2 separate regions of the Homo sapiens genome follow, and region 2 is linked to region 1. Evidence: promoter capture Hi-C in 16 types of primary human blood cells and fetal thymus (Javierre and others, 2016). All regions are on one chromosome and are shown on one strand. The core of a region is centred on a gene start or on the middle of the fragment in contact, and the rest is flanking DNA. Distances in the headings are between cores, read along the strand shown. Region 1 holds the start of CD99 (CD99 molecule (Xg blood group)). Region 2 has its middle 8.7 kb from the start of GYG2.

Evidence for each region. Contacts are between HindIII fragments. The CHiCAGO score rates a contact against its expected background, and 5 or more counts as called.
Region 2: a contact is called between a fragment that was not itself captured here and the fragment with the promoter of CD99 in region 1, in 3 of 17 cell types (fetal thymus, endothelial precursors and megakaryocytes). The highest score is 7.4, in fetal thymus.

The regions. Positions count from the first base shown.
Region 1 is chrX:2,689,968-2,692,579 of GRCh38, forward strand. CD99 (CD99 molecule (Xg blood group)) reads left to right here and starts at 1,328. Exons shown (of 10, transcript NM_002414.5): 1 at 1,328-1,460. The coding sequence starts at 1,394. The HindIII fragment of the contact is 9,076 bases long and covers 1-2,612 here.
Region 2 is chrX:2,818,970-2,821,581 of GRCh38, forward strand. No RefSeq gene overlaps it. Among named protein-coding and RNA genes, the nearest start is that of GYG2, 8.7 kb to the right of the region's middle. The HindIII fragment of the contact is 2,099 bases long and covers 264-2,362 here.

The DNA.
Region 1 (2,612 bases), core at 78-2,577:
CTGGGATTCCAGGCGTGAGCCACCGCGCCCGGCCTAGTTTGACTCTTTTCGTGGACAGTTTGAAGTGTGGAATGCAAGAATATTCAGGGTTATTTGTCAGGCTGCAAAGTTGTTCCACTACCCTGCGGGAAAATGGATACAATTTTAGGCTTAGGTGTTAACAGATAACATTGTTAAGTGTGGGAAGGGCGACAACTGCACTGCAGCTGTGGCCAGTGGCGCGGGAGGGTGTCTAAACTCAAAGCCCACTGGAAGGCGAGTCGCCCATGACCAGGACTAGGGCCCAGGTGCCCCAGATAGAAGGCACCTCGTTCCCTATTGCCCCTCACTAACTCCCGTGACCAGGAGTCCCCACTCCCAACCTTGTCCTGGGGATTCTGGGGAGAAACTGCCCCAGCGCAGAGGCTACTCCAAGGGTTGTCCTTGGTCCGGCGCAAAGGGTTCGTCCGCCACCCTCCCGGCTGCGCACCCCGCGCTCGGACGCTCTAGAAAGGACTTGGGACGGGGGTTGCCTGTGGAGCGGGGGCCTAGGCTTCCTGAGCAGGGAGAGGATTGCACTTTGCTCCCCTTGGGGAACTCCCTGAGGTGAGCAGCGGGGAGGGGCCCCCATACTTTTCCCAGCAGGGGAGCCGGGAGTTTCCTCTGCTCCCACTGCAGAGCAGGGGAGGGTCCCTGCTAGGGGCGGAGAAGGGGCTGCAGGGGCGAGTGGGGAGGGGGGCTACACGTTTCCAAGAAGGGCGGCAGTTTCGTGTCGCTACAGTTGCAGGCGTGCATTTAGGAGGCTGTAGACAGGGAGGGACCCGCACTTTCCCGAGCAGGGGAGCTGCTGGGAAAGTTTGTTTTTTTGCTCCCACTGGAGACCAGGGGGTGAGGGGCGGAGAAGTGGCTGCAGGGGCGAGTGGGGAGAGGGGGCTCTATGTTTCCAAGAAGGGCGGCAGTTTTGTGCCACTACAGTTAAGGGCCGCCCTCGGGCGTGCATTCAGAGGGCTGTAAACCGGGAGGGACCCGCACTTTCCCGAGAACGTTGTAGTTCACTTTGCTTCGGGTCGGCGCCGCCCTGGCTACGGCCCTGTGGGTGGGTGAGGGGGCGTGGGCAGTTTCCTGAGAAGGGGCGGGGCGTGTACCGTACTCCCCTCGGCGCTGCCTGGGCCACCCCCGCCCGCCTACCCCCTCTGTCTCCTCCCCGGGCCCGGCGTTCCCGCCCCTTCTGTGCGCGCGTGGAGGCCGGGGCGGGGCGGGCGCAGCCGGCGCTGAGCTTGCAGGGCCGCTCCCCTCACCCGCCCCCTTCGAGTCCCCGGGCTTCGCCCCACCCGGCCCGTGGGGGAGTATCTGTCCTGCCGCCTTCGCCCACGCCCTGCACTCCGGGACCGTCCCTGCGCGCTCTGGGCGCACCATGGCCCGCGGGGCTGCGCTGGCGCTGCTGCTCTTCGGCCTGCTGGGTGTTCTGGTCGCCGCCCCGGGTGAGCGAGCGGAGGGATCCGGGTTGGGGGACGCGGAGGGCGCGGGCCGGGACTGGGGATCCGCTTGAGATGCGGCGTTGGGGGCGCCCCGCGGGGACACCCGGAGCCTCCTCCCTGCCCGGCAGGACGCGCTGTGCCCACGGGGGCCCAGGCCCGGAGGAGGCGCCCACTTTCTCCCCAACGCTTTTCCTGGAGCCGTTCCAGAGAGAAAAGTCAGCGTTTGTTGTCGGAGTTGCAAACTCTTACATGTGGGGCGGCCTTGGGAGAGGTGCGTCCGATTTTTCCCAATCTAGGGGACCTTCTTACAGATCTCTCTCCCTTTGCATGAGCCCCTCACCCCACCCCGTTATCTACCCCCAGGGTTTGGGGACCTGCGTCTTCAGGCCGCGCGCGGAGGCCGCCCTGGAGTTGCCTGTCACAGCCACGCCCTGCGTCCCGGGCCTAAATTTGGAATCGCTAGGAGCCTGAGACCCGGGTGGTGGGGGGAAGGGAAGGAAAAGTTAGAAAAAAACTTTGAGCCCTGAAAATGTTCAAAAATACTCTGTGGATGCGGGCTCCGGGAATTTCAGCGCGTGCTGTGCGCCAAGCAACACGGGGCGCAGAAAGAAACGTGTGCTTACCAAATTGTCCATCTGCGGCGGTGGAGAATTCGGAAAACAGAAAAAGTGGGCAGGGAAGAAAGAGCCACGGTCACCCTCCCACGCCCTAAACCGGGCCTATTTCTAATTATTACTTTAATCATGTTTTTCTGTTTCCCTCCCTTTGAAACGGAAACGGAGACCCTGCCGGATGTGGTATGTTATAAATTCTTTTTTCATGTTATAAATTCTTTTTTCAATGGTCAGTGCATTTTTTGCTCTTCGTATGGGCAGGCTTTTAAGTAGACCGGCTTGCGGGCAGTGTGGACTTCAGGACGGGCCTTATCAGGGCTGGACGTATTTAGGAAGGAGACGCGGGAACGCCCGGCCCTGGGGAGGACGGAGGAGGCCCGATTTGTGTTGATAGGATCTAGCTCAGCCTAGAGCTGCGGTGACTAGGCCGGGTCTCTATTTTTAGGGAGGAGTTGCTAATGGATTTACACCCTCTTTAAAGGGGTCCCGGGTATCCTAGAAATTGTGCTTTCACTTGGTAGAGATTAGAGATAATGAAGCC
Region 2 (2,612 bases), core at 63-2,562, 130 kb after region 1:
TAGAGACGGGGTTTTGCCATGTTGGCCAGGCTGGTCTTGAACTCCTGACCTCAGGTGATCTGCCCGCCTCAGCCTCCCAAAGTGCTGGGATTACAGGCGTGAGCCACTGCGCCCAGCCTTTTAAAATAATTTACATACTTTACACATGTACACATAAAAATGGATGTTGGTTGGATGTGGTGGCTCATACCTGTAATCCCAGCACTTTGGGAGGTCGAGGTGGGTGGATCACTTGAGCACTTGAGCCTTGGAGTTTGAGACCAAGCTTGGCGACATATCGAGACTCTGTCTCTACAAAAAAATTAAAAAATTAGCTGGGCGTGGTAGTACATGCCTATGGTCCTAGCTACTTCGGAGGCTGAGACAGGAGAATTGCTTGAGCCTGGGAGGTTGAAGCAGCAGTGAGCTCTGATTGCACAATTGCACTGAAGCCCAGGTGACAGAGCAAGACCCTGTCAAAAAAAAAGGATGTCAGTGATAATGAGTTGTTTATAAAGATAGAATTAGAGTTCCAGGGATGACTGGAGAGGTATAGTGTATTATAACCCCTACCATGTGCCCGTCAGGGACTGGTACTTAAAAGTCAAAACAGTAACTGCAGAATTTGAGAGGTGTACAAAGATAGTCTCTCAAATAGTGCTCAGTTATTAGTTCAGCGATGGTCAGTTTGTGCATAGCTATGAAACTAGCTTATCACGGTAAAAAGTGTGTACGCTTCACTATCTTGTAGCATTTAGTTTCCCAGCAGGGCCATGCGACACCCAGTGGACATTTCTAAATTGTACATTCAAAAAAATGTTACCACTGGCTGCAACATTTTTTTCATTAAACATAAAAGTTGGTCTTGGGGGTGTCATTCAATGCCTTTTCTGCTTCCTTCAGAATTCTAAAGGCTTCCACCACAACTTTGATCTGAGCCCAGTTATGAACTTCATACAAAGCTGCAGGGAGGAGCCTGTGTCTGTTGAAGAAAGGCTCACAAGATCCCATGGTAAGGGGAGAGGAGAAGGGGTAATGAGGAAGAAAGGCAGCTTTCCAGGGGCCGAGTCCGGAAGACCAGACTTGTCAGAGAATGGAACTAGCTTGTCCAGTCTCAGCCCATGAGAGAGTTTCACGCCACGTGCTATTCTGGTTCTGAACATTGAGCACTTGGGTGACTTGGAATGGCCTCCATCTAAGCTGCATCTTCCCCCATAGTTCCAAATATAAATGCAATGCATTCCCTGGGTTCCTGCCAGCCATTGTCACGTTTTTGCTTCACAGCTGTCTCCTCCCTGCTCCCCGTCCTATTCATCTGCCCCTTGCTAGACAGGTATTCATGAAACATGACTGCTTGTTTATGAATAGCTGGGATGTAGACATGACATACGGAAAGAGAAGCTGCCAATTTTTCCCCAACCAAAAGTGAAAACAGTGCTTGGACCTAACAAGCATAGAATGTTTGATCCCATAGCAGAGCTGGTGGGAAGGCTGGGGGCAAAATCTGACACTGTCCACCATTGGCTGTAGACCAAAGGGAGGCTGCAGACCAAAGGGAGGCCGCAGGGAGGTGAGATCATTTCAATCGCAGGTCCCCACCCACTACGAGCACTTCCTCACCCACATCCTCTGTTCTAATCTTTTCTGTCTATCTCTTATCAACTTCCAACATATGATAACGTATCACCTTTTATTGTTTCTCTCCCGGCTCCATCCCCACTAGAATGCAACTGCTACAAAGGCATGGATTTGTCCCCAGTTTCCAGAAACATGACTGGCATGTAGTAGATGCTCATTAAAGACTTATTTATTTATTTATTGAGACAATGTCTTGCTCTGCCGCCCAGGCTGGAGCGCTGCAGTGTGATCCTGGTTCACTGCAGCCTCAAACTCCTGGGCTCCAACGATCTTGTCACCTCAGCTTCCTGTGTAGCTGGCACAACAGGCATGTCCTACCATGCCTGGCTAATTTATTTATTGTTTTTGTAGAGACGGGGTCTCACTGTGCTTCCCAGGCTGGTCTCGAACTCCTGGGCTCTAGTGATTTTCCCACCTTGGCCTCCCAAATTGCTGGGATTACAGACTTGAGCCACCACGCCTGGCCCTAAAGACTTATTAAACACACGGGAAAATGAATGAATGAAGCCCTCGTTCAGGCCACAACTTTAATAATATTAAAGAGGAGATATTTTCTTTTGGTATTCTAGCTAAAGACTTTTGGGATGAGATGGATAGGGATATTAACAAATGTGTGTGTTTTTAAAAAATATACATATTATGAAATAAAACATCTGGAAGACCTCCATAACTCAATGAACCAATATTCTACAAATGACCCATGTGTGAAGTGGCAGAATCATGAATGGATAAAAGGTTTGTCTGAAGCTTAAGATAAACCTGTGGGTTTTAAATGTGTAGACTTTAAAAATTCAGTGATAGGATTTCAGATTCCACACTACCTTATCTTTGAGAAGCTATTGATGATCAAGTTTTGTCATCAAAGGAGAACATTCACAGTTATTTGAAAAGATTACTAAAATACTTTTTCTAACTATGTATCTTTGTGAGGCTAGATTTTCTTCATCTACTTTAACCTGAACAACATAAGGAATGCTGATCTGAGAAACTGGTTG